Linked DNA regions of Homo sapiens: region 1 is linked to region 2. Evidence: promoter capture Hi-C in human tissues and cell types (Jung and others, 2019). All regions are on one chromosome and are shown on one strand. Each heading gives the region's core, a stretch centred on a gene start or on the middle of the fragment in contact. The rest is flanking DNA. Distances are from core to core; before and after follow the strand shown. Region 1 overlaps FCHSD2 (FCH and double SH3 domains 2). Region 2 holds the start of ATG16L2 (autophagy related 16 like 2).

Region 1 (4,656 bases), core at 424-2,923, 310 kb before region 2:
AATAATTTGCCCCTTAATAATTGATGATTGGCAATTTACTCTTGAGAGTATCAAGTCTGAAGCTGTTTATCTGAGGAGGCCTGTAAGTTGATGGTTTTCTTTGTAAATTCTCCAGATGTTCATTTGAGCCCCACAGATGCCATTCTATGTTGTTGGTATCAGTCTTCAGGGGTGATCTGATGCATAAGCAGGGGTTAGTTTTGTAAGTCTGGCTCGTGTTCTTGGCTTTTCAGTAACTAATTAGGGATCTAGGCACAGAAACTTGTAACCCTGTCCTTTGTCCCACTGCTGCAGATGTTCTGTCAGTGTTGATCGGGAGTAATTTATGGAACCTTAGCTGGTATTTTTGTTAATTTCATTTTGTTAGGTCCTTTCAATATTCCTTGATCGTGCTTTGTTTTAACATTCCATTTGATCTTTTTGGCATTCATGTGGGAATCCTTTGTCATCCAGATGTTTTCTGTTTTGTGAGCTTGGAAATAATCCCAATTTAATAAGAAAATGTTATTTCTGGTGTTATGAAAAGTGTTACCATGTCTGTGGTTCCACAGAAACAAGTTGGAGTATATATTATATATGTCTCCTGATTGTATTTTAGTGATAATTGTTTTTCCTCTTACTGGTGATTGGAGGATGGGAGCAAGGGACAGAGACTCTTTTTGTTGTTTGCTTTTGAGACAGAGTCTTATTCCATCCCAGGCTGGAGCACAGTGGTGCAATCTCGGCTCACTGCAACCTCTGCCTCCCGTGTTCCAGCAATTCTTGTGCCTTGGCCTCCTGAGTAGCTAGGATTACAGGTGTGCAACACGATGCTCGGCAAATTTTTTTATTTTTCATAAAGATAGGGTTTTGCCATGTTGGTCAGGCTGGTCTTGGACTTCTGACCTCAAGTGATCCACCTGCCTTGGCCTCCCAAAGTGCTGGGATTACAGACGTGAGCCACTGCACCCAGTCTAAGCTTTTTATTGTATGTTCTTTTTTGTGTATTTTGAATTTTAAACTATGTGAATATTATGCTCAAAACTAAAATTTAATGATTCAGTAATATTGGTAAACATTTTATTGCATGTCTGTTAAGCATAACAGATATTTAACAGATATTATAAAAGTTCGTATTAGTTGATGCTAAAATGCCATTTTTGGCTTTTAATTAGTTTTTAGTGAAGCTATTTTCATTATTAATAGACTTTAAAATTTATTTCTAATATGTACAAGTATTAAGAATACTTGATTTACAAACTTTTCTTCATAAAGTGATTGGTTTCCAGTTGGTTGTAGCACAAAGTTGGGAAAACAAGCTTTATGTACTACTGTATTCCTTTCTTTCTGTATTGTGGAATTTTTTTTTTTTTTTTTTTTTTTTTTTTTTTAAGATGGAATCTTGCCCTGTTGCCCAGGCTGGAGTGCAGTGGCGTGATCTCAGCTCACTGCAACCTCTGCCTCCCAGGTTCAAGCGATTCTCCTGCCTCAGCCTCCCAAGTAGCTGGGATTACTGGTACCCATGACTATGCCTGGCTAATTTTTGTATTTTTAGTAGAGATGGGATTTCACCATGTTGGCCAGCCTGGTCTCGAACTTCTGACCTTGTGATCCGCCCACCTCGGCCTCCCAAAGTGCTGGGATTACAGGTGTGAGCCACCGCACCTGGCCGTGGAATTCTTTTGTCTTGAAACAAGCAAACATATTAGATAGAGTCTTGCCTAATGTCAAATTTCATTTTAGCTGCCTTTATCCAAAGGTTTTATATCATAGCCATCAATTAAAACATTGTTTCTGTTGTGAAATGTAGTTTTGCATTAGCCAGCTCTCTCCATGGAAGAATGGTTTGCTCTGTTTTACTAAAAGAAGTGTTTTATATAATAGTTTTTCTTAGTTACATTGAATCAATTGAAATTGTTAGTATTCCATTTTCTTTCTTTCTTTTTTCTTTTTCTTTTTGCATTTGTTAGCTATTCCTCTGTTTTTAAAGTGGTCATTCTAAGATATGACATTGTGTTTTTTTTTGTCTTGAGACAGGGTCTCTGTTGTCTGGGCTAGGTTATAGTGGTGCGGTCATGGCTCACTGCAGCCTTAACCCCTTGAGCTCAAACAGTCCTCTTGCCTCAGCCTCCTGAGTAGCTCAGACTACAGATGTGTGCCACTATGCCTGGCTAATTTTTTAAATTCTTAGTAGAGACAGGGTCTTACTATGTCTCCCAGGCATCATTGAACTGTGGAGCTCAAGCAGTCCCCCTTCTTTGGCCTCCCAAAGTGCTGGGATTATAGGCATGAGCCACCACACTCGATCTACACCATGCATTCTTAATTTATCACTGTCTACTTAGAGTTAATATTGTACCATTCCACATACGACCTTACAATGGTCTAATTACAGTTATTCCATCCCAGACTTTGTGCTGCTTATAAACCTCGTAATATAATGTTAGTTTTCTTTAAACAGGTATCTTTTAAAAAGATTAAGAGAAGGAAAAAAGTCTTATATTTACTAATCCTGACTCTTCTTTCCTTCCTGAAACCAACATACAGGTTTGAGTTTCCATCTGTTATCATTTTCTTTCAGCTTAAGGAACTTCCTTCAGCATTTCTGGTGCAATTCTGCAGCTTTTGACACTTCTCTTAGCTTTCATATGTCTGAAAATGTCTTTATTTCACCCTCACTTTGGGAAGATATTTTTGCTGGATATAGAATTCTGAGTTGGTCACTCCAGTGTCTTCTGGCTTTCATTATTTCTGATGAGAAGTTAGCTCTTACTTATAGACTTGTTCACATCTATGGAATGTGCTTTCCCTTGCTCTAATAGCTTTTTTCTCTTTATCTTTGGTTTCCTACAGTTTGAGTGTAATGTGACTAGTATAGTGTCTGTAATTATCTTGTTTGGGGTTCATCATTCAATGGTTGATGCTTTTCATGAAACCTGGGAAACTTCTGGCCATTGTTTCCTTTTTTTTTTTTTGAGACAGAGTCTCACTCTGTTGCCCAGGCTGGAGTGCAGTGGCGTAATCTCAGCTCACTGCAACCTCCGCCCCCTTGGTTCAAGTGATTCTCCTGCCTCAGCCTCCTGAGTAGCTGGGATTAGAGGCACACGCCATCATGCCCAGCTAATTTTTGTATTTTCAGTAGAGGCGGGGTTTCACCATGTTGGCCAGGCTGGTCTCGAACTCCTGACCTCTGGTGATCCACCTACCTTGGCCTCCCAAAGTGCTGGGATTACAGGTGTGAGCCACTGCGCCTGGCCCATTATTTCTTCAAATATTTTTTTTCTGCCCCATTCTCTCTCTTCTTTTTTTAAAATTATTATTATTATACTTTAAGTTCTAGGGTACATGTGCACAATGTGCAGGTTTGTTATATATGTATACATGTGCCATATTAGTGTGCTGCACCCATTAACTCGTCATTTACATTAGGTATGTCTCCTAATGTTATCCCTTCCCCGTCCCCCCATCCCACAATAGGCCCTGGTGTGTGATGTTCCCCATCCTGTGTCCAGGTGTTCTCATTGTTCAATTCCCATCCATGAGTGAGAACATGCGGTGTTTGGTTTTCTGTCCTTGCAATAGTTTGCTCAGAGTGATGGTTTCCAGCTTCATCCATGTCCCTACAAAGGACGTGAACGCATCCTTTTTTATGGCTGCATAGTATTCCATGGTGTGTATGTGCCACATTTTCTTAATCCAGTCTATCATTGATGGACATTTGGGTTGCCATATGCAGAAAGCTGAAACTGGATCCCTTTCTTACACCTTATACAATATTAAGGCCTGTTCATGACAAATTTAAACTTTAATTTTATGATAAGATTATCTCTTTTCAGGTAACTCAGTTTGACCACCTTGTTTTGATTTATAGTGGATCAAGGGCTGAAAGGCAAAGAAGTTTAAAGATTCCCTTTTAAGTAAGAGTCAGTTGGCCAGCACCTGTAACTAGAGAAAAGGCAGCTCTGTTTAGACTGCATTTGATCAGTCTGAGAGGTGATATACTCTCCAGCCTCTGTGATGTTTTGAAGTGGTGGAGGGGGATGGTTATGCAATTAAGAAGATCGTATAGTTTATTCAAATTCCTGAATATTGCCATTATAGTGTGATGACATTGTCTTTGAAATATTTTGAATTCCCAGAATTAAACATAGCTTATTCAAATATAGATGCCAAGAACGCATTATAAAAGCAAGAGTCACCTGTGCACTTTACATTACAGATGCCTAGGCCCTATTCCTAAGATTCTGCGTTGGTAGATTTTGGGAGAGGCCTGCGCATATATAAAAAGCCATAGCATATGATTCTCATTTGTAATTAAGGATGAGCGCTACTTTTCCAGGAGTTACCACCGTTTAATATGCATTGTTTGATATGCATTTCAGATACTTTTCCTGACCTCAGGGATTCCAGGAAATACTGGCTTGGCTAGGAGATACTGCAGGAGAGGTGGAATTCCAAGATGTATAAAATTATCAATTGGATAGTCAACATTGAATTTGTCATAGGTCAAAAATGTCAGTGAAATAATTGGTGATTTAACACATTTATTTTATTGTGTACCCCAATAGATGATAGATAAAGAGAGTGGCGGTTTGGCTTGTTTATAAAGTGTTTTTCTCCCTTCTTTAATGTATATATAGTTCATGTTAATTAATTACAGATTTATCCTTCACCTAT
Region 2 (4,675 bases), core at 1,701-4,200:
AGGAGGCTGAGGCAGGAGAATTGCTTGAACCCAGGAGGCAGAGGTTGCAGTGAGCTGAGATCACGCCACTGCACTCCAGCCTGGGTGACAGAGCCAGACTCCGTCTCAAAAAAAAAAAAGCAAAGCACCTCCCAACTCTGAGCCCCAACCTATTCCTGGTTCTCATCTTTACTCCCTCTTTGCAACAGGTAGCAAGACCCTTTCTTTAGGCATCAGGCAAGGAACAGGGAAATGGAAAAAGACTGAGAAAGGGAAAAGACATAAGTATAGGGGTGGGACGGGAAGGAGATGGGACAAATGCAGAGAGATGGACAAAGAAAGGTGGAGGGGAAAGAGATTCTAAACAGCTGTCCTGTGGGAAGGCCAAGGGCCTGCCTCCCCCACCACCCCCACCACCTCCACCACCCCCACCACCCCTGGGCAGCAGCCAAGGGCTGATGAGGCACTAGGGAGAGAATGAACCCAGCACAGGCAGCAGGGGCAGGGCCCCAGCACAGGCAGCCCTTTGTGACCACGGACCCACATACACTTACCAGGGGCCCTGGTGGGTGGTGGGAGTGACACTGTTTGGCTCCGGCTGCAGCTTCTTTGAGAACTTGTCCAGCAGCTCAGCCTTCTCTAAGAGATGGTTATCTGGAGAGTGCAAGAGAGTGAGCCTGGGGCAGAGACAGATACCCAGCAGCCCCCTGGCATGCAATTTATCTCCGGCTAAAAGGGCTGAAGGAGCCCAGAGATGCTAGGGATGGGGAAGCTTCTGGCAGGCTGGCCTCTGCCCTGTGCCTGAGGGGCATCTGTGCAGTTCTACAGGACCTTCAGCCCTAGCAGTGTCCTCATAGCACCGGTCCCCAGGCCCACGTGGAAGAGGACCTGCTCTCCCAGGGACAGAAGGATGACCACTGCGGGGTACTGCCCGCTGAGGGTCCTGAGGGAAGGAAGGGGCCTGGGATTGATTCATCCCTGCCTCAGAGCAAGGCTTAGCCCCAGAAAGTGATGAAATAAACCGAGCTCTACCTGTCAATGGCCTTTGGCAAGTCACTTCCCCTCCAAGGGCTCTAGCTTTCTGCACTTAAAAATAATCCCCAGCCGGGCGCGGTGGCTCACACCTGAATTCCCAGCGCTCTGGGAGGCCGAGGCGGGCGGATCACGAGGTCAGGAGATCGAGACCATCCTGGCTAACACGGTGAAACCCCCATCTCTACTAAAAAATACAAAAAATTAGCCAGGCGTGGTGGCAGGCGCCTGTAGTCCCAGCTACTCGGGAGGCTGAGACGGGAGACAGGCGTGAACTTGGGAGGCAGAGCTTGCAGTGAGCGGAGATCACACCACTGCACTCCAGCCTGGGCAACAGAGCAAAGACTCCATCTCAAATAAATAAATAAATAAATAATCCCAACTTCCCCAGCCCTGGTGTAAGGTACCCCCAGGCCAGAATAGAAAGTCCTTGAGCAATTATCCAGCCGACATTCTGGAGGTTGGTGGTTTGACCCTGGAACACCCTCCCCCATCAACAGTCACTTCCTCTTTTCTCACCAGTTCCAGGGGAGGGTGGGGTGGTAAGTCCGGGCCTAGCTCCCTCCTCATCAACTTCCTTCCCACACTCAGTGCCCTGTCACCTTGACTGAGGCCCTGGGCCTGGCCTAGTTCTCATGAAAACCCCACCTCAGCCCCCAGGGTACTGCAGCACCCAGCAAACCTAAAGAAGGTCTCTATACCCAATTAACAAGTAAGAAGACTGAGGCTTAGCGATGTGATCTGCCCAAGGTTTCAAGACTGGCCCTTCAGTCTGATTTCAGCCCTCCAGATCTCTCTAGTCCCTCAGACTCACAGCTCCCTGGGTCGGGGCGGGGGGCAGGGGTTGGGGGGGCGGTGACCCCCTCCCTCAAACTGGACGGTTCCACTGTCTGTCTGAGCAGTGGAGAAGTGTGGCTGCTGGAGGTGGGGGCTGGCCTCGCAACCCTGAAGGTAGAGGACCAGCAGCCTGGAAGCTTGCAGAGAAATTTTCCTGGCTAAGAGCAGATTTGATTGTGGGGGTTTGGCCAAGATTAGCCCCAGTGAGAGAGCCGCAGGGATTGTGGTTAGACTTCCAACCACAGACATACAATCGCAGGCGGCCAGAGGTGCGACACACAGGCACACCTGTTCATCCCCTCTTGAAATGCCACACCCTATCCTGACCAGCTGCCCAGAAACAATTCTGAGAGTCCGACTTCGCTGGGCTCAGCCAGCATCCACCAGCAGCCCGGGGCCCCCTGATGCCCCCTCAGGCTGGGTAGGCTGACAGGGAGGTGTTCCATAAGCCTGTGCCAGCGTCGCCTGTCAGCGGCAGAGCCTGAGATGCACAGCCTCCTCCTTAGAGGTTCCGAGTGTCGCCCCTCTCCGGATGGGCCAATAAGTGGCTGCTCTGGACAAGTCCCGCGTTCTTTCACTGCGCTACCGAGACTAAGTGCACTGATCAAGCCCCTACCCCGGGGACTGCCCGGGTGGGGAGGCAAAAGAGACCCTGCAAAACCAACACCCGAGGACGCACTTGCGTCTCGGAAGCCCAGCTTGTGGGAGGCAGAGCCCGTCCTGAGGGGCGACGAGGGCAGGGGGACCAGGAGGGGCTCGTCCAGGTTCTAACCAGAGCCTGGATGGCAAGGGGCGGAGTCCTGGCAGTCGGGATGGGCGTAACGCACAGGCTCAAGGCATAAGGCACAGCGCACTCGGGTCACAGGCGGAGGAGCCAGCCAAACCCTCTCCCCGCGCCCGTAGCCGCGTCCCCTCAGCCGCCATCCTCTCAGCACCGGGGCGCACTCACAGGCCGGCACCAGCTCCAGGAAAAGCGCCTTTTGCGTACGGTCCCGAAGCCGCAGCTGCCGCACGATGTGGCGTTTCCAGCGCGCTGCGGGGGCACCGGGGACGCCCGGCCCCGCCATGGCCGCGCTCTCCCGCCTAGCGGCGCGTTCCTCCCGCCCAGGACGGCGCCAGGCCGGGGCGGGGCCTCGCGGGGACTCCGTGACGCCAGGGGGCGGGCGGCGGCGGGGAATCCCCGGCTTGTCCCAAGAGGGCTTTGGCGGGGAGGACCGAAGGCCGACGCCGGGAGGATCTGCCTCCGGGAGGAGCCGCCTCCGGGTCTGAACCGCCGGGGCCCCGTCCGAAATGTTCACCTAAGTGGGGGCTCCTGTGGCTGCGAGGGTCATAAGCAGGAGCGAGGTCGGAGCCTCCGGGGAGGCTTCCCCCACGCGGGTGGAGCGCTCCGGAGGCGGGGCCCTCAAGGCCCGGGTGTCTTAACCCCGCCGCGCCCGGGCCGAGTTCGAGAGCCGCTGGTGCTTCCCAGGCCGTCGCGCTCCTGGCCGCGCACCCAGCCAGGGACCCAGAGGCCCTCAGCCCCGGGCTCTGCGCGTACACTGAGGGCGCGGCGCAGCAGGACAGCAAGATAAGGAAGCAGAGACTGAAGGGAGGAATCCCCGCTTTCCGGGGATGATGGCGTTCGAGTTGGGTCTGTGAGGGATGAAATAGGAGTTGGCCAGAGGGAGAGAGGGACTCTAGGCCTCGAGAAGAGCACGTGCAGAGGTTCCGTGACACGAAAACGCCAGGTGGGTGCGGGGCTGGGAGGACAGGAGGCAGAAGGGTTTACGGCTCCACATGGTCGCCGAAATTTTAGGTCCCTGAGAGTAAAGGGGTGCAGCTGATTTCATCTAGAAAGCCCCTGGCCGGGAGGAGAGAACGAGCTTGCTTGCCTGGGGTTGCAAAGGAGTGGGTAGCTGAGACGGCCAGCACCCCAGCATCCTGACTCAGGGCCAGACGCTTCACCCCATTGGGCGGCGTCTGGAGGAGCAGACACATCTCTTGTGGGTACCCTCGAAAGTGAATCATGGGTCGCAGGGAACTGTGGTCAAACCGTCTCTAGCTAGATGCTAGAGAGCCAGCTCTGCAGGCTCAGGCTACTGTGAGACACGAAAGGAGGGACTCGCTGGGCACAGCCTCACCCTGGGGCATGCCAGCAGGCCCTGCCCTCTGAGTGTTGGCAGACTTGAACATCCCTAGGGAACGAGAGAAGTTGGGCAACGATGGGAGAGCAGTGCAGGCCCTGGAGGTGACGAGTCTGTTGAGATTCTGATGGGGATGGGTCAGAGGACGTAGAAAGCAGTGAAGGCCTAGACGCCCCCAGGTCAGTGTAGCCTGCTCTGCTTCCAGTGAGCTGGGCTCAGTCCCCCACATGTCATTGTCTTAGACGCCCATGGCCTTTGCACAGGCCGAGCCTGATGTTTGGAACATCGTCGCCTCTAGGGGGCCTGGCTCCTAATCATGCATCACCTCCTCCAGGAGAACTTTCCTGCCCCTACACTGAGTTCAAGCTTCTCAGACACCAGCCCCAGTTGAGTTCGAGTTATAACCGTCACCAGTTATCACACCATCCTGTAATCTGTGCGGTGCCCCTTAGGGCAGGACCTGGGTCCTAGATGTCTCTGTACCTCTAGCCCCAAACCAGGCCTGACCTGTCTCTTGAAGGAGTATTTGTGTTGAAGATGGGTGGTAACGTTCAGCAAAAGCCATGCCCAGGAGACAGGCACAGTACCCATGGAGACCCAGGGCCAGCTGATGACAGTGATGAATTCCCTTTAGAACTGGCGGACTCTTGGGTGCTTGGAGACACTATATAAATAAGGAACTCTGGCTGTGTGCATGGGAGAGT

Evidence for each region. The method cuts DNA at HindIII sites, captures the fragments that hold promoters and counts their contacts. A contact is called where the count stands out against the background at its distance.
Region 1: a contact is called between a fragment that was not itself captured here and the fragment with the promoter of ATG16L2 in region 2, in 2 of the 25 tissues and cell types used here (IMR-90 fibroblasts and dorsolateral prefrontal cortex).

Annotation. Positions count from the first base shown.
Region 1 is chr11:73,123,054-73,127,709 of GRCh38, reverse strand. All of the region lies in intron 2 of FCHSD2 (FCH and double SH3 domains 2), which reads left to right. Among named protein-coding and RNA genes, the nearest start is that of FCHSD2, 17 kb to the left of the region's middle. The HindIII fragment of the contact is 4,053 bases long and covers 1-3,699 here.
Region 2 is chr11:72,812,686-72,817,360 of GRCh38, reverse strand. ATG16L2 (autophagy related 16 like 2) reads right to left here and starts at 2,950. Exons shown (of 18, transcript NM_033388.2): 1 at 2,798-2,950; 2 at 534-633. The coding sequence starts at 2,915. It overlaps LOC107984421 (a long non-coding RNA gene), which reads left to right and starts at 3,294. Exons shown (of 3, transcript XR_007062771.1): 1 at 3,294-4,675. RefSeq lists enhancers at 2,178-2,327, 4,338-4,467, 4,628-4,675 and silencers at 2,858-3,307, 3,708-3,797. The HindIII fragment of the contact is 4,089 bases long and covers 1,369-4,675 here.